Linked DNA regions of Homo sapiens: all the other regions are linked to region 1. The links are contacts of gene promoters, found by promoter capture Hi-C in blood cells and fetal thymus (Javierre and others, 2016). All regions are on one chromosome and are shown on one strand. Each heading gives the region's core, a stretch centred on a gene start or on the middle of the fragment in contact. The rest is flanking DNA. Distances are from core to core; before and after follow the strand shown.

Region 1 (3,388 bases), core at 262-2,761:
GAGCCGAGATAGCGCCACTGCACTCCAGCCTGGGCGACAGTGAGACTCCGTTTCAGTAAAATAAAAAAAAAAGATACCATAAATTATATGGGCCTAAACTTGAACCTTCCTTACTCACCCCTCACTTATACTCTACCCCTTCTACCCTCAAGAACCAAATCATGGTAGTCATCCTGAAACCAAGCATCGCACAGTGCACCTTACTATCTAAACCTTTGCTCATAGGGCTGCCTCTTCTCCAGCTCCAACCACTGGAAATTCCATCCCTCAAAGCCCAGATCAACTGCTAACTGCTTCATAACCACCTAGTCCAAAATGAATATGATCATTATGTTCCAGAACTCCTCTATGCTTCAAATTAGAGTACTCCCTGATCTACCACTACCTGCTGGACTAGTCACTTAACTTCTCTTCGCCTCAGTTTCCTAATCTGTAAAATGGAGCTAAAAGGACCTACCATACCACATATTATTGTTGGATAATAGAGAACACTTAGCATGGTAATAACATGTTCAATTAAAACATTATTTCTGTGCTACATATATTTTCCATGCTCCTTGAAGGCTCCGAAAGAGCATTTTCCATTTCTGAATCTCCCAAGTTTGACGCCATTTACCTCTCAATGTTTTGACTTTTTGTATCCATAAAATGAAAGAAATGGACTAGACCAACTACCATTCCCTCCAAAAATGTTATCTATTCCCTTGCAAAAATAGCCTAACGCAAAGATACTGCAGGTGACCTTCCACAAGGACGGGAATTCGAGGGTAAGTTAACTATTGCTGCAAACGGAAGTGGCTGGAAGCAAAGAGATTAAAACAACATTCAAGATTTTGAAGATCCTTTCCAAAGAAACTGACTCCTGCCATAGTGATGGATCCTTTGAAATATGTTTTTAAGTTGGGTTACAAGGATGAACTCGGGGTCCATGAACTCCCAAACAGAAATGTAAAACTGTGCGCCAGAACAAATATACAAATTTTTCTGGGGCCAGAGTGTCTGCAGCATACATTAAATGCATCTGTGACCTTAAGGGGCGAAAAGAGGGTGACAATGAAGAGACTAGTCGCGTTAAGTTGGAAACCACAATGGATGATACTTTAGACAACAAACGCAACCTCAGATAACCATAATCCCCAACAAGTGAGAAGATGACCTCAGACCGGGCGAAGCAGCCGCCGGGTATGAGGAGACGCTGGTGGAAGCAATGCTACCCAGAGCTCTGCACCTTTCCCAGGTCGGCATCCAGCCCGCATGGCCCGCGGCGTGAGACCCGGGGCGAGGCCCCTCGGCAAACCCCGCTTCCCGCCCCGGTACCTGCGGGGTCGAGCGCCATCTCGGCGGGCCGAGAAGAACGTAGCCGCTTGGCGGCTCCGGGGCACGCAGGAAGGGGAGTGGAGGGGAGGGGCTTGGGCTCGGACGCACGTGCGACCCCCGGGAGCTTCCCGCAACAGAAACACGGGCCCTTTGCAAAGCACCGCCAGGACCCGTTCCCTCTTCCTTCCCAGGCTCCTACTTCCGCCGCCCGTTGCGCCTGCGCCTTTCTGGCCCCGCCCCAATCCTGTAACTAGAGTGGAACTGACTTCGCAGGGGGAATGACCAGGAAAGGGGGCGTGTCTGCGTGCCTTTGGGGCGGGACCGTGCAGGACGCGCGCAGCCTCGCTTCAGGAGGCTTGTGCACCAGTTGCAGACCCGGGTCGGCCGTGACTGGAGGCGGACCTGCAGGACTTTGGGACTGTGCCTCACTCGGTGACTGGGCCAAAGTCCGAGCCCCGTCCCCCATACCCGCCTTCGGAGAACCAAATGAATCATCCAGTTCCTTTTTTTTTCTTCGTTAACGTTCATTCATTCATAAATGTCTATTTCATGCCTGCCAAGTTCCAGCCACGGTTCTGAATACGAGGGGAAAATAACAATAAAAATAACGTCCCTGTTCTCAAGGAGCAGTGTGGCAGAGGAGACAAATAAAAGCAACACGCTGTTAAATGTGATAAACGCCACACGCACTAGTTGTTCACAGCTTGTTCTACCATAAAGGTGATATGGTGTGTGCAATATCGTTATTTCTCCTTCAAATCAAAGACTGTGGCTCTCCTAGACGTTAAAATATGGGCTCTAGAAGTACCTCTATGTTGTGAAATAATATCCTCAGGACGTACAGTATGATTTGGGTGATGTTACAAATCCTGCCTCTATCAGTAAAAGCTGTATGTTTTGTGAGAGTAAAATGAAGGAAGGTAATAGCCGTCCCGCTGAAGACCCACTACTCACCTCTTCTCAATAGAAGAAACTTTCTAGGTGGCACTTAGGTTCATTTCCACTCACAAACCAGCCTTCAGAAGTGCTTCCTTGTCAAATTCACGTTTAACTGGCTCGAGCCACGAAAGGGTGAGCTGAGGCCTGGGACAGATGGGACAGATGTTTAGAAAAACAAGGAGCAGCTGCTTCTTCCCTGCAAGGGATTCAGGGCTTTCAAAATGATCCCCTCCCCACCTACCTGCAGTCCCTCCTCCCCTGCTGCTGCTTCCGCCTGGTCAGTTGGCAGAAAAGCTGAGGCAGTTGAGCAGGGCTGGGAAAGTGGGTCTCTGCTCAGCAGGTCTTCCGTTTAAGGGCCTATTTGGGCATAACGGCCCTTATTACAGCTGTAGGTTGAGGTGCCAAGGTGAAGAATTAACGTTTCACTCACCCAGCCAGGGAATCAGGTCCTTTTCCTTGTATATTTTGTAAATATGCTTAGAAATACACCAAAATGACTCTGGTATGCCTCTTTTATTGTTCTGAAGGTGAAGGATTTGATTTAGAAAGCTAAAGCAATCTTTTTGAGGAGATGGAGTATGAAAACACAGGTCAGACACCCATATTCAAGAATTAAACTAAATCTTTCTATATGCAAAAGGGTATTATGGTAAAGGAGGAAAGTTTGATCTGTTATCTTAGTGAGTTGAGTAAGTTCTATTATTTTTCTGGACTTTGGTTTCCAATTTACAAGGTTGTTCTGAGGAATAAATGTGATATCATACAATGCATTTGAAAGACTTTAAAGGACCACTTCTACCATTTCTGCCATAGCTATTACTTGAAACATTACTATTTAACATTTGTTTTTAAATCAACACATTTTTAAAAACACTTAAATAGGCACTATTTACTTTAGCCTTATCCTAAGCAACAGTATCTGTAATATCATGGGTTTTGTGTGCCCCATAGAATGAACTGCTAGACGTATCACACCAGGAGAAGCACTAGCAAAAACGGTAGCCCAATACCTGATACATAATAGTATATCTCTCTCTACTCCCATGTTAAACCAGATACTTTGGGGGGAAACTGAGTCTTTACAATCTATACCTAGGGAAGATAAGTCATTTTTTAAGTTAAGCGAATGTAA
Region 2 (3,388 bases), core at 589-3,088, 940 kb after region 1:
TTTTAAGCATGATCAAATTTGTTTTTTGAAAGATCACTTTGATAGCAGTGTATGTGGGAGTGAGGTGGGGGTGTTTGTTTATATCCACACATTGAGATCCACTTACAACAAAGAGAGGCTGGGAAAGTTCGTGAAGGTAAAGAATACTATTTATCAAGGAACATTTATTATTAATGTCAGAGCACAAAATTTGGGAGGGAGAGGAGCCATAGGTAATCAGCTCAGGGGAAAGGAATGAGAAAGCCGTATGAGAATGAGAATATTGGAGAGGTAGATGAAAGAGGGATTTATATCTTGAGCATGACAAAGGATTACAAGGATGGGAGGAGCAGTGGGGTTACCTAGCTGCCTGGTGTTCAAAAGAATCCCAACGTTGCCCAGGAAATAGAAAACACTAAGAGCTCTTGATTGACAGTGGAGGAGTGTGAAAAGAGGAGTATGTGTCTTGATGACTCCCAGTCTTGTGGCTTGGAAGACTGAAAATATTGTGGTGCCATGAGTCAAGATCGGGGATATAAGGTGAAGAATAGACCTGGGGAGGAGGCTAATGACTTTGAGTTTAGGGGTAGTATGGAGAGTACTTGTGGAATATCCATGTGGCTAAAACTTCTGGAAGTTAGGAGCAATGCCTGGGCTGAGATCATGATGACAGGGTTGAAAGAGTGTTTGAAATCATGGGAATGGATGACACCATCCAGGAGGGGAGTGTTTAGAGTATGAAACTGGAGGACTAAGGATGATTCTATAAAACGTTTATCATCATAATATTTCATGGCACAGCTGAACCTTGTGTCTTTACCATCAATTTAATGCACTTTGCACTGAGTATATAGTAACTGAGTGCTTTGCCCTTAACTTACCTGCATTGTAGTGTTTTTGACATTTTCTAAGAATGTCTTATTTTGCAATTACATAGTAAGTTTCTGAAGACTAGAATAAGGCTTTTATTATTATTATTTTTTTTTTTTTTTTAGTCTTTAGCACAATGCAGATGTCATTGTTTGTCCTTGATACCTATTTGCTGGTCAGTAGGTTTGTTTTTTGTTTTTGTTTTTGTTTTTTAAACAGAGTCTCGCTCTGTCACCCAGGCTGGAGTGCAGTGGCAAGTGACCTCGGCTCACTGCAACCTCTGCCTCCTGGGTTCAAGCAATTCTTCTGCCTCAGCCTCCCAAGTGGCTGGGATTACAGGCACACACCACCACGCCCTGCCAATGCTGGTCAGTAGGTTTTTAATCAGACCAACGATGATGCAACGAGCCTATAATTTAGAACAGTGGTCTGCAAACTATGACCTACAGTCTAAGTTTATTCCACTGCTTATTTTTGTAAATAAAGATTTATTTTAACATAGGGATGCGAATTTATTTTTATATGTTGTCTATGGCTGCTTTCATGCTATCTCAGCATAGCTGAGTAGTTGTGACACAGATTGTACAGTTAGTAAAGCTAAAAGTGTTTGGCTTTGATCGGGCTCCTTACAGAAAATGGCACATTGACCCATGACTTACAAAATGTTAGGGTTATATTTCATGCACTGATGATAGCTTTAGTCTTAATGTAAAGTAATCAACTCATGATGCTGTGATTCTCACCCCACCCTCTGTACCCCTTTCAGACTAACAGCGGAGTTGCTGCGCCTACTTTGTGCAGAGCCCCAGGTGAAAGAGCAGGTGAAGCTCTATGAGGGGATACCGGTCCTCCTCAGTCTGCTCCACTCTGACCACTTGAAGCTCCTCTGGAGCATTGTCTGGATTCTGGTACAGGTTTGTGAGGACCCTGAGACCAGCGTGGAAATTCGCATTTGGGGAGGCATCAAACAGCTTCTTCATATTTTACAAGGGTGAGTAAAAGTGGGCTTTGGCCTACTTTGCCCTGTTTGTTGAAGTCTGGGGACTCTGTGACAAGATGGCAGATTGGTGTGTGTCACCTCATTCCCTCCTGCTTTGGGATTTCTTTGGTAATTCATGCTTTCCAAAGTCATCTAGACTTGTCACAAGCATGTTCTAAATCAATGTCAGGGGCATTCATCTTTTAAATTCCTTGGGGACCCAGATATATTTATCTTTGCATCACCAACCTCCAGTACAGTGCTGGGAATGTAGAAGGCCATCAATCTGCAAATATAATGAAGGCTGAATGGAAATCCAGTAACCTAAAAAAAACCTTTGTCTTGCCACCTTTTCCTTGAATTAGTATATGCATTTTGTCATTCCAAGTATAATGATTACTAATATTTTCCTAAAATGTTTGTGTGTGCACATATGTTATTATCTATAAAGAGAAAACAAAGCCTATATGAAAGGAGCAGGTGTACAATCCTTGTTTTTGAAAGATGATATCATTAATCAAGTGGTTGCCATGTTACTAACTCTAGTCCAGTTCTCTACTTTTCTCTCTAATCTTCATTACGGTCCTCTAAGGTGGGCATTATCTCTCTTTTAAAAGTAGAATTCCAGTGACATTCTAAGTCAGGAGCACGGAGAATGGATAGTTTTGTTCCCAATTGAAATTCTCTAGAAGTACGTTGCAAACTAACTTCTGTATTTTCTGAATTAAATAGATTGAAGTATTTAATAATAATATCTTGTGGTACCATCCATGGGAAGATTCTATTACCTAATATTGTTATAAAGTATAATTCAGTTCTATGGGTGCTGAACCAAAGTTAAAAATGAGTATGCCTCCTTGAACTGGATCGTCTTTATGATCTGCAGTACATAAATAAAGCTCATTCTAATAAAAGCAGAGGGACTTATCAATTTTCATATAACTAGATATTATCAAATCAATGTTGTTATGACTTTGTATTTGTTATGCTTCCAGCGATATTGCAGAACTGTGTGTTACCAACTTCATTTTCTCTTAAGGAACATTCAGAAGCATAAGAATAGACTGTACAGACATGAACAGTAGCTTTGTTAACAATATTTGTCATTACCTAAACAAAGGAAAAATTTATAGACTGTTGACAACCCACTTGCTTCATGAATGTGACATAAAAATATCAATTACTTTATAGTATAAATTATAAGTCATTCATTAGTGCTGTGACATAATAAGCCAGCCCCTTGGTCAAAATAATTACAATTGCCAAAGGTTTTTTATTTAGGTTTGTAGGATGACGATGGTAATGATGATCATGGTGGTGGTTATTCTTTATTATTGGACAATCATACCTATTATAATAGGTATGGGTTGCCCTCTTGGAGAACAGCTATTTTCATAAGGATAAAATGAAATTCTGTAATAGTTAAGCAGAATTTCAAAGACAAAACCTGCCTTTTTCTCATATAGAATTGAATCTAGCTTTCTTCTTTTGCTGAAGTCATAACTATCCTTGGTAAAAAAGAGGTCTTTCACATCTAAAGTATCATTTTCCAGTCCATTT
Region 3 (3,388 bases), core at 544-3,043, 920 kb after region 1:
AAATAGAGGAGGCAAGAAAAACACCAAGGGTTTCTGTCTGGTTACCTAGATGACTGGAAGGATCAGGCTTGAGGGGGAGTTCATGAAGTCAATTTCAGACATGCTGACTATCAAACTGAGATTCAGGAAGCCATGGGTTCTAGTTTCAGTCTGGGCTCTGTTGCTCCAACTCTTTGGGTACAAGTATCCTCAACAACTGATGTGAAATGCACCTTGCATTGTGCACGTTCTATGGCCTATGAAGCAACATTAGGAGCTGACTGAAAAGCTTTAACATTTTGACTGCATTTACTACTAGCTATAACTGGATGTGGGACAGCTGAGCGACAAAATAGAAATTGTTCACAGTGGCCCAGCAGGGTCAGGAAGGGATGTGGGTGTCACCAAAGAGCATAGACTATCCCTACCCTGACTTCCTACTTCTAAGCTAACCTCACCTTCTGAGCTCATAGAGGCATGACAGTGGAGGGATTCTGCCTTGACTGATATGCTCCCTTAGGTTTAAATCTAAGTGAGAGGTGCCTAAAATGTGCCTACCTTTACCACACTGGTTTAAATCAGAGAATTGGTCATCCATATATATTTGAGTAGCTGCTAGCTGCTGGGTGCAAGGCCTTGTGACCACCTCTGAATTTGATTAGTGTCTGGCTTCTTTCAAAAACATTGCAAAATTGCAATTGTCCTTATTTTAAAGACCTTTGAAGGATGCAACTAAATCATTCTTTGCTAAAGAAACATACTTTTTGAAAGCCTCTCAAAAGGTAGTTGAGTGAATACTTGTAGCATTTGATGACATTGAAGTGATACTTTTAAGTTAAATAGTTCTTTAGAAATCTGATGATGGTATTTTGGATATTGGCTATATTCAATATTTGAAGTAAAAATCCAGGTTTTTTTTTCCCCCCTCTGAACAGACCTGTGGCAAATACACCTTCAGTTTCTGTCATAATATGACTTCTCCAGTGACTGTGACTTTGATTTCAAAGGGTTCTGCTGAATCTCACTATAGAACTGTAGGGTAGTATTGGTGCTTTGCCCAGAATCCTCCCGTTCTCACCCTTTTGGTTTTGGCACCTTCCTGTCCAACAACACTTGCACCAACCACCCTCAGGTTCCTTGAGTCTACCTTGCCTGCAGGCACAGAGAGCCAGTGGGAGTGTCTGGGAATGCTCCATCAGTCCCTCCTGCAGCTCTTAGCGAATGGCAACAGCTTCAGTAGTGTAGAAAAGCCCAGTGCCCTTGCCTCAGTATGGGACAACTCTGAGCAGTAACTTACATTCCAGAGCCCCACTGTTCGGATTGAGGGGAGATTTTGGCTGATGTGATACCCTTGCTTGGATTTCTCCTCTTCCCTTTCCTGTTTCTCCCACTCTCTTACTGGCCTCTCCTGAGAGCATGTTTTCAGTCATTAATTTGCACACACTAATCTTCATCTCAGGGTCTGCTTCTGGGGAAACTAATCTAAAAAAATACTTTATCCCTGTGTTTCCCAAACTGAGCACCAAACTGCCTCAGGGCTGCAGAGAACTCCCAGGGGACACTGTGAGGTATTTTCAATTTTCTAAAAAACAAAACCAAAAACACCCTCAGTGCTACTCAACATCCATCAGATACAGCATGAACAACTGAAGGCAGTTTGTGATTTCAATGTTAGGTCATCCTGCCTTCCTTTAGCTGATGGTATATCTTTCAGAAGCTGAGTTTTCAGTGGTTGCTATGATAAAAAAACAAGTACTCTATGAAAGGGGGAAGAGAAAACAAAGATGGTGAAGTCCAAACTGATTCCCAGGCTTGAGAAGTTGTTTTGTTTCCACTAATGCACACACCCCCATTAATAAGTAAGTGTGGTTATGAAAATAATCTTTTGATGTAATGTATTATTTTTTCAAGTGGATACCAATTGGTTATGGCGTAAATTCTTACCAAGTTAGACCTACCTAAATTTTGGAACATTTAGCTCTTTCGTTTGATCTTAGGGTACTATGAAATATTACTGAGTCAGTAAGGGTGGTGGCATGAACCAAATAAGTTTGGGGGGGGCCTCTCCTCCACACTGAAAAAGATAGTTTAAATGTGTTTTGAATTAAAATGAGTCAAGTGTTCAAGTACCAAATAACAGTCCCCAGTGCAAATTAACTAAGTGCTTAGTGCGTTCTTTATACTCCTTCATAGCCTTGCATTTTTATGAATTGCCACACTGGGATTTTAAACGTGAACATGTTCTCTTGTTTTCTTCTTTCAGAGAGTGGGTTAATCGAGCCCCATCTATTCATTTTCTGAGAGTGTTAATCTGTCTGAGGCTACTAATGAGGGATCCATGTTATCAGGTTGGTTGGAAAAATACAATTTTTTTTTTTACTTGTTATAAAGTTGTAATAAAAGACTGGTGGGCTTTTCTTTGAAGTAGTCCATGTTTACTTTTTGTTTTCTCTCTCACAACTCAATAGCTTCCATATATGGGGAATGTCTCATCTACTATTTAAAAAGATTTGAGAGGAGCGCTTTAATGGGGACCAAAAATTTGTGTATTTCTGTTGTATTACTTATGGGATTAAGTGGATTGAACTTTTTGGTCTATGTTTTCTTTGCTATTTGGCATTTTAAACCATTTACCATTCAAGGAGGTATACACTTGGCCACATCTTCAAACATGTTCAAGGCCAAGCAGCTCCCTAGGTCAAAGTCAGCAGTGATGAGTGATGGCCTGCTCATGTGGCTGAGAGGCAGCCAATGGAGCTTTACTAGCTGCTCCAGGGTCAATCCCTTCCCAACCTCTAGAGTCAAATTTGAGCTAGAGGTGAGCAAGGAGCCTCCTGCTTGTCCCAAAGGAGGGCACTGAGGTCAAGAATCTTTTCCTGGTTGGGCATGGTGGCTCACGCCTATAATCCTAGCACTCTCCACCTCCCAGGTTTAAGCAATTCTCCCTCCTTAGCCTCCTGAGTAGCTGGGACTACAGGCACGTGCCACCATGTCCGGCTAATATTTTTGCATTTATAGTAGAGATGGGGTTTCACCATGTTGGCCAGGCTGGTCTCAAACCCCTGACCTCAGGTGATCTGCCTGCCTCTACCTCCCAAAGTGCTGGGATTACAGGCATGAACCACCATGCCTGGCCTCTGTTTTTAGTGCCTCTCAAACTTTAATGTGCATGGGAATCACCTGGACATCTTGTACATGCAGAATCTGACTCAGTATGTATAAACAAGATTCTTCATTTCTAACAAGTTTCCCAGGGATGCTATTGCTACTAGTTCATGGCCCATACTTTGAGTAGCAAAGACATAGTGCTTTAGCTGTGAGGCTCTAAAGAAAAGCTTACTTAACACTTTTTTTTTTTTAACTGAAAAAGTGTCTCCTTTTATGCCCTGCCCTCGTAAGCTACTAGGAA
Region 4 (3,388 bases), core at 407-2,906, 850 kb after region 1:
CCGCTGGTCCATTAGAGAGAGTGAATGAAAATATTTGTGGTAAGATGTAGGGAGCCATTAAAAAAAAAAAAAAGTCTTTGCTCTCCTACCTGGAGTTCTTGCTGTACCTTCCAGGGAGAAGGAAACAGCCTTTATTTTTTTATAAAGAAGTAACCCAGGCCAGGTGCAGTGGCTTGTGCCTGTAATCCCAGCACTTTGGGAGGCCGAGGCAGGTGGATCACTTGAGGTCAGGAGTTCAAGACCAGCCTGGCCAACATGGTGTACTAAAAATACAAAAATTAGCCAGGCGTGGTGGCGGGCGCCTGTAATCCCGCTACTCGGGAGGCTGAGGCAGGAGAATCGCTTGAACCCAGGAGGCGGAGGTTGCAGTGAGCTGCGACCATGCCATTGCACTCCAGACTGGGCAATAAGAGGGGAACTCCATCTCAAAAAAAAAAAGTAACCTAAAATTCAATTTTCTAGGAGTGGCAGAGAGGGTCTAGTTAAATTTCTAGAAGGGTAGTATATCTGACAGTAGTTGGAAAATTCCATGTAACAATTTCCAGTAGCATAAGGAGAAAACGAAGTGTGTTCTATAAGAAAAATGATCTGAGCATCCATTTGAATTTTCTGCTTTCATTAGCAGATTTGAATATATTCATTTTCCTTCTGCTCTGTTTTTGTTTTCTTCCATCCTCCTTTGCTTATGCTAAAAGGAAAGACATTGTGAATAGTGTCACTGGTTATATTTAATTTAACAAGTTATATGACTTCTTTCAGAAGCAGCTGGTTTAAAGGGGATCCGAAATAAGGAATATAATGAAGATCATTTTATTTTATATTATAAAATCTAATTTTATAATATTGCACTGAGACCAAAATGTTATTTTTAAAATCAGTGGTCTTTAAAGTAGGGTACACAGGTGGAAAATGATCTGCCAACAATTTTTAGAAAGTCTTATGTTTTTAATGTAAAAATATGAAAATATTAAACTTTAGGTTTATTTTATGAGAATATATAAATAAATGAAACTATGAATTAATATTGGTTCAAAACGTGATGTAATTTCCTGTAATCCTGGCCTAAGTTCCTTATTCTGATTCTTAAATATGTCCTTGTTATTTATTTACTGATATGGCTTTCAGGTAATAGGCTGATTTCAAGGGGCATAAAATATACTTGAGGAAGCAAATCAAGGAACTCTTAAGAGTAAATGGCATTGTATAAGTAGAATAAAATATTTTTGTTCATACACAACATTGAGTGTGAGGTAGTTTAATATATATTAGTGTGGAAAGATTGAATTACCTGAACTTTGAAAGTATTAAATTTCCCTTTTATATTGACAAATGTTTTCATGAAGAAGAAACAAGCTTAATACCAAGTTGAGGTAATAAAAACATATGTTTAGGTTTCTATATATGCAGTATTCTCCCAAACATACTAAACTCTCTTGATCTTTAAAAAAAAATTGCTATAAAATCTTACATTGTACTGTCAAAATGTATTAGTATCTCATAAAGTGCCAGATTTTTGTTAGTAGTTCCTTTGGAAATACCATGTATTGTGGACCAGTTCTGATTTAGTACTGACCCTGTCAAAATCACTAAGTCTGCAGGACTAGACTAAAGCAGTTTAGTTTAGGAGTTTAGTGGATAGATTGATTTCACCTTATATGAATTATGCAGGAACATGTGGAAATGACATTCCAGTTTGCTTATCAATTTCTACATAACAAACTTTTGAATAACAGCCCTTTATTTGTTTATAATTCTGTGGCAGTTGAGACTAGGCTTAGCTGGTTTGTGGTCTGCTCTGTGGGGTGCAGTCATCAATGGGGGCAATATGCCTTCATTCATATGTCTGAGGCCTCAGCTCAGATGGATGAAACAGCTGGAATAGTTGCCTGGGGAACCGCCCCCGACACCCACTACCATATAGACTATATTGAGGATAGTCTTATCCTCAAGAAAGCTTATCTAGGCTTACTCGACAGCGTAATAATCTCAGGGTTCAAAGCAGGTTAGAGAAGAAGCTGCAAGGTTCTTTAAGGTTAAGACTTAGAAATCACATAGTGTCACTTTGGCCTTATTCTGTGGGTTAAAGTAAGTCACAGGGTCATCCTGGTTTCAGGGGGGAAGGAGGCAGACTCCACCTCTAGGTGGAAAGATTGACTGAGTCAAATGACAGGAGGTATAGTTATAGGGATAGGAAGAATTACTGTGGCCATCTTTGAAAATAATTCACCATGTAGTTCAAGATTTAAGTTATTTCCCATTCGTTGGGTATTTCTTGGAACAGATCAAGTCTATGTTATGGAAATTTAGTGCAATACAGCAAGGAGACTTTTTGAAAATTATATTTAATTTTTTAACAGCCTACTCATCCAGAGAGAGGGTGGATCATAAGCCCACTGGGAGATAATCCTTGGTGGACCTTATTAATAGCTGCTATTCCTGCTTTGCTTTGTACCATTCTCATCTTTATGGATCAACAAATCACAGCTGTAATTATAAACAGAAAGGAACACAAATTGAAGGTAATTTTAGAATTTTGCCTTAAGCATTGTGATTCTTCAAGGGTTTGAGCTGTTTTTGTAATGATTAGAACATTAAAAGATGTAAGATGAAAATTAGCTTCTTCCCTCTTTATAATTCGTGTAGAATTTTAAATTGAGGGAACCATTTAGACTTACAGATATTTATGTTCATTTCACTTTTCAGAAAGGAGCTGGCTATCACCTTGATTTGCTCATGGTTGGCGTTATGTTGGGAGTTTGCTCTGTCATGGGACTTCCATGGTTTGTGGCTGCAACAGTGTTGTCAATAAGTCATGTCAACAGCTTAAAAGTTGAATCTGAATGTTCTGCTCCAGGGGAACAACCCAAGTTTTTGGGAATTCGTGAACAGCGGGTTACAGGGCTAATGATTTTTATTCTAATGGGCCTCTCTGTGTTCATGACTTCAGTCCTAAAGGTAAAATTTCTTTATTGCCGTGTTTTACAATCTTATTATAACATTTATACTTAGTTATGTGAACATGAAACATTAAAATATACTTAAAATACCTAAAATTAGGTTTGTTTTCCACAGTTTACTTGGGAAATAATTTCATTAGGTTTTTAGTATAGCAAGCATTTCAGTGGTAAGCTGTATATATTTTTAAAATAATGTATACCAGGTGTAGTGGCTTACGCCTGTAATCCCAGCAATTTGGGAGGCCAAGGAAGGAGGATTGCTTGAGGCCAGGTGTTCAAGACCAGCCTGGGCAACATAATGAGACCCTGTCTCTATAAAAATAAAAATAATTAGCCAGGTATGGTGGCATGCTCCCGTGGTGCCAGCTGCTCAGGAGGCTGAGGTGGGAGGATCGCTTGAACCTGGGAGGTCAAGGCTGCAGTGAGCCGTG
Region 5 (3,388 bases), core at 283-2,782, 770 kb after region 1:
TACTGGTTTGTTGCCTAAAGCTTCACATTTTAAAGGATATGATGTGTTGACAAAATTGTTTAAAAGCCTAATTAAAGCATAATTGTCTTCCTTTATTTATTTTGAGACAGAGGCTCGCACTGTCTCCTGGAGTCACTGTCTCCATGAGTCTTGTACTGTTGCACAAGCTGGAGTGCAATGGCGTGATCTCATTTGCCTCCCGGGTTCAAGTGATTCTCCTGCCTCAGCCTCCCGAGTAGATGGGATTACAGGTGCCCGCCACCATGCCAGGCTAATTTTTTGTATTTTTAGTAGGGACCGGGTTTCACTATGTTGGCCAGACTGGTCTCAAACTCCTGACCTCGTGATCTGCCTGCCTTGGCTTCCCAAAGTGCTGGGATTACCTTTAAATGATTTAACCATTTTGACAAAATATTTAAAATGTGATATATCTCTCCTTTTAAGAATAGAGTACTGATCACTAACTAGCTTTATACTGTTTTTAAAACTTACCTTGTGTTTAACTGTTTTATCATTGAATTTCTTATCTGCTGTAGATTTGTTATTGATAACAAATGAAATGACAGTTATTTAGTGGAGATGATGATGGAGGCCTCTGTTATCTCACTTATTTATTCTCTGAGACACAAATTTTACCTCCTAAGACTGCTTTCTGATTCTTGTTGTAGATAGCTTAATTCTGTTTTGATGAGATCTTACTGTATCTTTTTGATAATGTTAGACTTTCAAAATTTAGTCTCTAGAGTATAGAAAGTCAGAGAGCTTAGCATAGTGTTCAGTCGAATAGGCGTAAGATAGTTTCTAGTTGTTATTCTGTTGAGGCAGGACGATAATAAATTATACTTTATAAAGGGTTCATATTCATAGTTTCATCTTAAATTTACCATTTATATATTTTTTCTGTAATATGAAATAATTACCATGAATTTTATTGGGTAAAGTGATAGTCTTCTAAATTTTGTTTTGGGTACACACACAATTTGTGCACATACGCTCTTTGTGATTTTATGTATGTATTTGTATTATTAGATAACTTAAAAGATGTTCACAAATTTCGAGAATAACTATGTAGCATTGAATTTTATTGGGTTAATATACTCAATCTGCCTTTTTTTTTTTTTTTTTTTTTTTGACATGAGGTCTCACTCTGTCACCCAGGCTGGAGTGCTGATATGATCTCGGCTCACTACACCCTCCACCCCCCGGGCTCAAACAATCCTCCCACCTCAGCCTCCCGAGTAGCTGGGACTACAGGCACGCACCACCACACTTGGCTAATTTTTTGTATTTTTGGTTTTGCCATGTTGCCCAGGCTGGTCTCAAACTCCTAAGCTCAAGTGATCCGCCTACCTTGACCTCCCAAAGTGCTGGGATTATGGGCATGATCCTGGCCTCAAGCTGCCTTTCTATTTTACAAAAATGTGATTTCTCAAAGGGGTCGTTAAAGTAGGAATTTTAAAGTAATTCAGCTTGTTTTAAAGAGCCGGTTGTATATGTACTGACTTTATTAATTACATTTTTTTTTAAGAGATGAGGTCTTGCTATGTTGCACAGGCGAGAACGTGGTGGCTATTCACAGGCATAATCATAGTGCACAGGAGCCTTGAACTCCTGGGCTCAAGTGGTCCTCTGGCCTCAGCCACCTAAGTAGCTGAGACTAATGGTGCGTACACACACACCATGCCCAGCTTATCAATTTTTGAGATAGATGTTTTCTTCCATTTTTTAAGCTGATTCTAATCCTTTTTTTTTTTTTTGAGACAGAGTCTTCCTCTGTTGCCCAGGCTGGAGTACAGTGGCGTGATCTGGACTCACTGCAACCTCCGACTCCCAGATTCAAACGATTCCCCTGCCTCAGCCTCCCGAGTAGCTGGGATTACTAGCTTGCGCTACCACGCCCAGCTTATTTTTGTATTTTTAGTATAGCTGAGGTTTCACCGTGTTGGCCAGGCTGGTCTCAAACTCCTAACCTCAGGTGATCTGCCCGCCTCGGCCTCCCAAAGTGCTGGGATTATAGGCATGAGCCACTGTGCCCAGCCTGATGCAATTCGTTTTTGAAAAGGAATTTTGATAGAGGTAAGATACAAATAGAAATTGTTTCATTGATTAGAAATCAAAACAGTATTTTAATATGGTTCCATAGCAAAGTATGAGCCCATCAGAATTTGAATTCATATTGGAGGTGTGAGGCAAGAGGTGGGAGATAAGGTCATAAAGGGAGTGGAGGAAATGATTTTTAGATTAAATTTCATCATTTCAGATCACAGCTGAAAAATGCAAATTATACACTTTATATCACTGCATTCAATTTAGTTATTTTATTTTGTTTTTATATATATTTTTATTTATATGTATATATTTTGAGATGGAGTCTCATTCTGTCGCCCAGGCTGGAGTGCAGTGACGCAACCCATACAGATGGGGTTTCGCCATGTTGGCCAGGCTGTTCTTGAACTTCTGACCTCGGGTGATCAGCCCACTTTGTCCTCCCAAAGCACTGGGATTACAGGCGTGCATTGCGGAAACCAGCTGCATTCAATTTAAAAAGACATTTTAAAATTTAATATCTTGTCACTGACTTAAGCTCATGTATTCAATTTTTATATAACTTATTTGCTATCATCTGCTAATTGCATTGGTTTAGCAATAAATGGCTTAAAAGGTCAATAAATGAGTATTGACTGGATTAGCTCTGAGGGATTGTTTTATACCATGCCAGTGCTTTCTTTGTTATGGTTGTGAGCTTTGAAGAGGGAGGGGCAGTTTAAGATTGTAATTTGGTAGCAGTGAATTTCAGATGATGGGGGATGGCTGCCTCTCTGCTAATCTAGAATAAATAGCTGATTGGAGGAGTAAATACTGTTCATTGAGAAGATTTTCATGTAAAGCCAGAATGATAATATTTTCAGCTTTTTCAATCGGCCTCACAGGAATGGCATATAAAGTGTAAAAAATGAGCATGGGCTAACAAATTTTTGTTGGGTCTGTTGGTTAGCAGTCATTTACTGTTTAATGCCTTGAATCACTCAAATGTTAAAGCTTTTGCTTTAGTTTGTCATCTGAAACAAATTAGCGTGAACCACAGTTTATAAAATGCAGGCCTGGGACTTGTAATGGGAATTTTTTACTCACTTTGTTGATAGTGTATTAAAGCTTCAAATTGGAAGCTGGGCGCGGTGGCTCACGCCTGTAATCTCAGCACTTTGGGAGGCCGAGGTGGGCGGATCACCTGAGGTCAGGAGTTTGAGACCAGTCTGACCAACGTGGAGGAACCCCATCTCTACTAAAAATACAGAATTAGCCAGGTGTGGTGGTGCATGCCTGTGATCCCAGCTACCTGGGAGGCAGAGGTTGTGGTGAACTGAGATTGCCCCATTGCACTCCAGCC
Region 6 (3,388 bases), core at 492-2,991, 600 kb after region 1:
ATAAAAAATTTTAAAACAATAAAAAGTCATCCAGGCACTGTGGCTCATACCTATAATCTCAGCACTTTGGGAAGCCAAGGCAGGAGAATCGCTTGAGGCCAGGAGATCGGGACTAGCCTGGGTAAATAGTGAGACCCTGTCTCTACAAAAATTAACATCAGCCAAGAATGATGGTGCGTGCCTGTAGTTCCAGCTACTTGGGAGGCTGAGGTGGGAAGATTGCTTGAGCATAGGAGTTCGAGGATGCATGATCATGCCACTGCACTTCAACTTGGTGACAGAGCAAGACCCCATCTCTAAAAAAATAAAAAAAAAATAGATGCATAGATAAATGTATCAGTGTAAAATAAGATAATTTTCCAATGAAAAGGACCTGAGATTGTATTAAAAATTCATCTGGAGAGCAGATCCATCTGCAGGATGACACTGACAATCCAAACATTTGTTCAACCTTCTTTTGTTGACCTCTGAGTTCTCAATAGACTGCTTGCGCATGTGTTCTCATTGCGGATACGTTAAAACATATTGAAAAAACTTCTCCACCTTAATTTTTTAAAGTATATTAATAAATACAAAGTCTTGCTTTGTTACTGTCAAGGAAGTTCAGTTTTAAAAAACCCCCGAAATTTGGCAACAGTCAATAAACAAACCAATTGATTGTGAGTAGAAATGCCACAGGTATTTACCCCCTTGAGCTGAGAGCAGGATGTTAGTCAGCTCTAGGAGCTAAGGATATTTTCTGTTTTGTTCTCCTCTGTGTCCCCAGAGACCTAGGATCATGCCTGCCACAAAGACAGCTGTCTGGAAGAGTCAAATTCTGAAATATTTCAAAACCAACTTCTGTTATGCAGAGGTCCTTTACCTCCAAGGGCTGAATGATGAGAGAGGTAGAGATGGGATGATAAAGCACAAGGGACCATCTGGAGAGGTTTGGGGAAATGTCAGTTTGAAGGGATGGGGACTAGGGGGTTAGATGAGGGAGAAACAGAAAGGTGGGTATTCTGAACATGCGTGCAGTTTTCACAGCAAAGAGGCAGGAGAGTGGAAGACAGAAAGAAGGATTTTCTCTGCGGAGCGGGCAGCACAGGGCAGAGGGGAAGGAAAAATAAAACTAGGGATTGAGAGAGAGAGAGGTGATTGGCAGGGTATTGAAAAATACTTTTGCCAGGAGTTCCTGGTATCTCTCTAAGCTTTGCTAGTTCACAGACCTCTCTATACAAGGAATGCAAAACATTGGATTTGGATAGATAATGTATGATTAAGCTTAAAAATACCCAAAAAGGGAAATATTGCGTCAAGAAATGTGTGTCAAAACAGCCAGAGAGAAAGACAACTGGACAGAGGGCTGGTCTTACGGACATAGGCTTCAAGGGAGCCCACCCTGAAAGAAGAGCCGTGTGAGTGATAGAAATCTCATCTAATCTCCCTACAAAGATGCCCTGAGAAGTATCTGTTTCCAGAAATCCAGAATCCTGAATGACTGCGTGCATAGTCAGTCTTTTTTTTTTAGTAAATATGCCCATGAAAGTTAGATTAGGCATTGCCTTTTTTTTTTAAACTATACCCTAAAAATTCTCTGTGAAGCTTTGTATCAGTGTAATTAGGCAAAAGAAAAGCAGGAAACCTTAATGGAATCTTTTGATCCCATTAGGGCTACTGGGACATTTGCTGAGCAAAGTCAGAGGTGGTTAATATCTAACCAGGGTTTAATTTATGATCTGAGTGTACAAACCACTTTCAAGACTATACAGCTGACTAATGAATTTATTAGGGAGATTAATGCTTATTACCTGCCGTTTCAAGACATGCTGTTATGTGCTAACTTGACTGTTGTACCTTGGAACATGCTGAAACCTCCCGAGGTTCACCTGAATGGTGGGTGTGTTCCCCAAGCTTAGTGCTCCCATGGAGTTTGAAGTGGAGGGTTAAGAGGAGTCAGTCCTCACTTCTGTGTTGGTTTCTGTATGTCTCAGCCCGTCACCAGGACTACTATAGCCCATGAGGCTGGCACACTCTCCTCCTCCAGCCCTGCTCAGGGCTTTCCTTGGTTTCCTTGGTTAAGGGCAGGCAATGGATCTGATGTAGGGATATTGCCCTGACAGAGGTCATTTCCCCAACCTTCTGGCAGCCAAGTGGCCACCTCCCTTTGAAAGGTAAGCATATATCTTTCCCATTGCCACTCTCCTTCAGCCTCCTCCCTACTCCTACCTCATAAACAAGAGCAAGTGAATCATGCTATATATTCAGATAGAAATAAGCCCTATTAAGGCAGTATTTAGTAAGGCGGGGCTAATGAACAGATTCATCCACACCAAGCCCCGGAGTCTTAGCTGAAACACTCATGTAGAGTCTTCCTTATCCAGGTATCTCTTTTTCTTAACTCAAAAGTCACTTACTTAACTCAGCCAGGAGTTTTGTTAAAAAAAAAAAAAAAAAAGATTTAATCTAATCTATGTGATAACCGTATACATTTTTTCTTTACCTTTAACCTAGGCCTTGAAGTTCTTACAGCCCACTTGATAAGCTCAAGTGGAATCAGGCCTTCTCTTATTATTAAGAAGCACAGTATTTCCCAAAGACCACTCATCACTCTGCAAATAGTCTAAGGACATGAGGGCCTTAATCAAAGCAAGGGGAGAGAGAAAACTGAAAGTCACACATCAGGCCAATCCCACTGTTGCTTTGGCTGTGGGTGTGACTCTTGGAGACTGATCCCACACAGGCTGGGGGACAGTTATCTGCTAAACTGAGACACTTACTGGTTGAATCATGCCTTGGTTAATAGCACCCCAACTTGGGATTGATCCAAGGTTATAATTATTTTCATTAACCTTCATGTGCTTCATATAGTCACCAAGGTATAGCACTACCAAACAGTATTTGTCCTCAGCTGTATGTTGTACCAATACCAACCCTCCCCCACACCCTCTTCCACCTCTCTGCATTGAACTTGGGTTACCAGCCTTGACCTACCTTTCCCTCATGGTGAGTTCCTCTTTGATATTCTTTCCTGATAATAGCTATTAGTGGTCCTACCTCAATCTAAGAGTGATTCTCCAAGTGCTGAACCTCAAAAGAGTAAGAGCTGGGGTCCAGATGCAGTGGCTCATGCCTATAAGCCCAGTGCTTTGGGAGGCCGAGGCAGGAGGATTGCTTGAGCCCAGCAGTTGGAGACCAGCCTGAGCAACATAGTAAGACTGCCATCTCTGCAAAAAATTTAAAAATTAGTCATGAGGTCAGGAGTTCAAGACCAGCCTGGGCAACATGGTGAAACCCCATCTCTACTAAAAATACAAAAATTTGTTGGGCGTGTCAGTGCACACCTGTAATCCCAACTACTCAGGAGGCTGAGGCAGGAGAATTGCATAAACCTGGGAGGCAGAGGCTG
Region 7 (3,388 bases), core at 491-2,990, 570 kb after region 1:
AACTTCATGATTAGCCAGAAAAACAAATCGCGTGTTAATATCTCATTCTCACTGTTTAGAAACTTTAGACACTAGTCAAGTTTTGCACATTCAGATACAAGAGCTGGCTTTGGGACCTGTGATGCCGATTTTAGTAGTAGTCTTTCTCTCCCCTTCTTTCTCCCTTCACTTTTTTCTCTTCCTCTTCCTTCTCCTTCCTCCGTCTTTTCTACTCAATCTTTGTTATAAATATTACTTGATGGAGTTTCAGCTTTCAACGTTGAATAATATAATTAACCTTCTACAAAAGCCACCCATAATATTTGGGAAGTTTTCTGGAGTTCACCCAAATAATAAAATCCAAGAGTCTAAAACACCAACTTCTCACCACTAAGAACACATTCCCCCAATGGTTAAATTAAACTAAATTTGGCCTGAAGATGCCTCAGTACTTGACTCCTTACTGAACAAACTGCAACCAACTTAGTATTTAAACTAACTGAAAGCTTAACTTAGAAATATACTTTTATAACAAATAGCTGAGTCTCAGCCAGTGACAGCAGCCAGGGATCAGTCAATCACAGACATGTTCAAATAACTCAAACACTAAGCTGTCTCTATACCTCCTTTTTGTTTTCTGGGGTTTTTTGTTTGTTTGTTTTTTGAGACAGGGTCTCACTCTGTCACCCTGGCTGGAGTGTAGTGGCACGATATTGGCTAACTGCAAATTTCGCCTCCTAGGCTTAAGCAATCCTCCCACCCAGCCTCCTGAGTAGCTGGGACTACAGGCATGCACCACCACAGCCAGCTAATTTTTGTATTTTTGTAGAGAAAAAGTTTAATCATTTCGTCCTGCTCTCAAACTCCTGGGTTCAAACAATCCACTTGCCTCATCCTCCCAAAGTGCTGGGATTACAGGCATGAGCCACAGTGCCCGGCCTTTATTGGCTGCCTTTCCTTCCCTGTCTTACTTCTCTAATCTGCTGGTATTCCCCACACTTCCTAAATAAACTCTCATATGGGAACTTTTATTTCAGAATTTGCTTTCAGGTAAAGCCAAATAAGACAACTTTGAAACATTTATTTAACCAATATTTATTGAATGCCTGTGGTATACCAGGCTCTGTGATGAACCAAATGACACGGGCCTTGCCTTGTTTTAAACTACATGCGATCTTCCCCTTCCTTTCTCTTCCTGTTCCTGCTGTTGAAATCGTCAGTCTGTTTCTCCTCCATTCTATCCTACACGTGAATTCCAGAATCACCATAATAATACCATTTTCATTGTAACACCATCATGGCTTCTCATGACCAAAACACAAATTTCAGATTTTTTAAAATGGCATTTGAGGGCATGATAATTTACCCCTCATCTTTGTTTCCCAGCAGTCTCAACTGTTGTTTCTCCTCTTTCCCCATGTATATCCTGTGACCTTGCCTTCCCAGAACAATGGGATAAGCATAAGGCTGAGATTAAGCACATGAACTTTGGAGCCAGAAGCCTGGTTCTCCCACCCAATATCAAATACCAGTGTAACTTTAGGCAAGTTATTTTACTTATCTGTGCCTCTGTAAAATGGCACAGCAATACCTCCTCTACAGAGTCACTGTGAGGGTTAGCTGAGATAATACATATAAAGCACACAGAACAGTAGCTGAGCACTCTGCAAGTGCTGTTATTATTGGTGGTTGTTTGATACATCCCATGTGGAACATACCACAAGTGTTTGTGTTGTGCCCTGTCTGGACAATTTTTTTTTCCATTTAACAAACTCCTTCAAGACCCTACTCAAGTATTAACCTTTCTATGCAGTTTTCTCTTATCAGCTCCTTACACTCAACTCTAAGAATTAATTGCACTTGGTTTTTCAAGTCTGTAATATTTTTTATGTATGTCTATTTCTGCACTTATAACATTATATCATGATTAATTGAGTGTGTGTGTGTGCACGCATGTGTGTGTGTGTATCTCCTATCTCCCATGTGAACTGTGAGCTCCCTGTGGGGGGGGGGGGGATGGTATCTTTTTCATCATTAAACCTCCAATGCCCAGTATAATGCCTGGAGTATGATTGGTGCTCCATAAAATTAGTTTAATGTAAGAATGAGCAAGTGGGTAAATGAATGAATGACTGAAATTGCTGCAGAAAATAGGGTGGGACCTACATCGAGAGCCCACCCATCTTCCACCCCTTTCTTGAGACTTCCAGTATAACGGGAGGCATCTTACCTGATCCTCCAACAATCTATTTGTTTCATATACCCTCATTGGTATTCCCCCAACCCCCCCATACTACCTTCTTTCTAATACTTCCCTTCCAGGCCAGAAGAGCATAAGGATGAGACTGCTGAAAGATGCTCAGCATTTGAACAGAGGCAGGTTGCCATGGCAACCATCCACAAAAAGAGTGGCAGCATGTGCTACTATTTCTCAGACCTGGCTCCCAGCCCGGCCCTGGCTGGTGGGAGGCAGCAGAGAGACGCTGTGTAGCATTTCCACATTACAGTTTGTGCTGCACCCCATTGCTTCCTCATTTCATGCTGCGGTTGTGAGTTTTACAGTTTGCTTTTCTGTAGGAATTTTGTTTTCTTTAGGTTTGTGGTGGTAGAGGCAGGGAGGAATGAGCAGACTGAACCCAAGCCATCTTTTAAAATGTTTCTAAATTAGCAGGAGTCTACCCTTGGTCTCCTGTTTTTATCCCATAGAAATGTTTTGGGGATTAGTGACAGGAAGCCCTGCTTAGTGCTTAAGAGCTGCTTTGTGAGGAAAAGATTATTGTTGAGCCAGAAACAAGCCACAGGTGTGTTGCATTCAGACCTTGAGTAGAGGATAGGGCTGGGAGGACTTATTCCTGTAGCTTTGTGCTTTCAGGACTGTTGTTGTTTACTGGGTCTTTCGCCAAAGTCACATGGGAGACAAGTTTGCATTTCCTGTAAAAACAGCTGTGGGAGACTTCATTACAATAAGTAAGAGTCTAGTGATAGATTCTGAGAACTCAGTACCAGGAAAAGCTTCTGTTTCTTCATGAACTGTGGCTTATTTTTTCTACTAATGGACAGTGGACATCATATAATTGCTGGAAGTTCTGAGCTACATATTATGTTCCAAATACTAGTTTCCTTTTTTCTTTTTTTTCCTGGTTTTTTATATTTATTTTATTTTATTTTTTGAGACAGAGTCTCTCTCTGTTGCCCAGGCTGGAGTGCAGTGGCATGATCTCGGCTCACTGCAACCTCCGCCTCCCGGCTTCAAGCGATTCTCCTGCCTCAGCCCCCTAAGTAGCTAGAATTATAGGTGCACGCCACCACGCCTGGCTAATTTTTTTGTATATTTTAGTAGAGACTGGGTGTCACCATGTTGGCCAGGCTGGTCTCGAACTCCTGACTTCAGGTGATCTGCCCACCTTGG

What was found. Contacts are between HindIII fragments. The CHiCAGO score rates a contact against its expected background, and 5 or more counts as called.
Region 2: a fragment that was not itself captured here is called in contact with the fragment with the promoter of CMC1 in region 1 in 1 of 17 cell types (M0 macrophages); the score reaches 6.6 in M0 macrophages.
Region 3: a fragment that was not itself captured here is called in contact with the fragment with the promoter of CMC1 in region 1 in 1 of 17 cell types (M2 macrophages); the score reaches 5.5 in M2 macrophages.
Region 4: a contact is called between a fragment that was not itself captured here and the fragment with the promoter of CMC1 in region 1, in 3 of 17 cell types (naive CD8 T cells, fetal thymus and total CD8 T cells). The highest score is 5.4, in naive CD8 T cells.
Region 5: a contact is called between a fragment that was not itself captured here and the fragment with the promoter of CMC1 in region 1, in 4 of 17 cell types (fetal thymus, non-activated CD4 T cells, monocytes and 1 more). The highest score is 7.1, in fetal thymus.
Region 6: a fragment that was not itself captured here is called in contact with the fragment with the promoter of CMC1 in region 1 in 1 of 17 cell types (non-activated CD4 T cells); the score reaches 5.5 in non-activated CD4 T cells.
Region 7: a fragment that was not itself captured here is called in contact with the fragment with the promoter of CMC1 in region 1 in 6 of 17 cell types (M2 macrophages, M0 macrophages, activated CD4 T cells and 3 more); the score reaches 6.8 in M2 macrophages.

The regions. Positions count from the first base shown.
Region 1 is chr3:28,239,742-28,243,129 of GRCh38, reverse strand. It overlaps CMC1 (C-X9-C motif containing 1), which reads right to left and starts at 1,511. Exons shown (of 4, transcript NM_182523.2): 1 at 1,318-1,511. The coding sequence starts at 1,336. RefSeq lists a silencer at 1,219-1,298. The HindIII fragment of the contact is 9,835 bases long and covers 1-3,388 here.
Region 2 is chr3:27,303,199-27,306,586 of GRCh38, reverse strand. It overlaps NEK10 (NIMA related kinase 10), which reads left to right. Exons shown (of 36, transcript NM_001394966.1): 12 at 1,616-1,840. Among named protein-coding and RNA genes, the nearest start is that of NEK10, 64 kb to the left of the region's middle. The HindIII fragment of the contact is 4,760 bases long and covers 1-3,388 here.
Region 3 is chr3:27,321,116-27,324,503 of GRCh38, reverse strand. It overlaps NEK10 (NIMA related kinase 10), which reads left to right. Exons shown (of 36, transcript NM_001394966.1): 6 at 2,243-2,327. Among named protein-coding and RNA genes, the nearest start is that of NEK10, 47 kb to the left of the region's middle. The HindIII fragment of the contact is 3,046 bases long and covers 271-3,316 here.
Region 4 is chr3:27,394,085-27,397,472 of GRCh38, reverse strand. It overlaps SLC4A7 (solute carrier family 4 member 7), which reads left to right. Exons shown (of 26, transcript NM_001321103.2): 19 at 2,358-2,519; 20 at 2,704-2,955. Among named protein-coding and RNA genes, the nearest start is that of NEK10, 26 kb to the right of the region's middle. The HindIII fragment of the contact is 601 bases long and covers 1,356-1,956 here.
Region 5 is chr3:27,471,449-27,474,836 of GRCh38, reverse strand. All of the region lies in intron 1 of SLC4A7 (solute carrier family 4 member 7), which reads left to right. Among named protein-coding and RNA genes, the nearest start is that of SLC4A7, 11 kb to the left of the region's middle. RefSeq lists an enhancer at 2,713-3,213. The HindIII fragment of the contact is 3,019 bases long and covers 23-3,041 here.
Region 6 is chr3:27,640,867-27,644,254 of GRCh38, reverse strand. The region is part of intron 1 of LOC124906221 (a long non-coding RNA gene); the gene reads right to left. Among named protein-coding and RNA genes, the nearest start is that of LINC02084, 70 kb to the left of the region's middle. The HindIII fragment of the contact is 309 bases long and covers 1,587-1,895 here.
Region 7 is chr3:27,665,954-27,669,341 of GRCh38, reverse strand. No RefSeq gene overlaps it. Among named protein-coding and RNA genes, the nearest start is that of LINC02084, 45 kb to the left of the region's middle. RefSeq lists a silencer at 2,438-2,487. The HindIII fragment of the contact is 2,506 bases long and covers 488-2,993 here.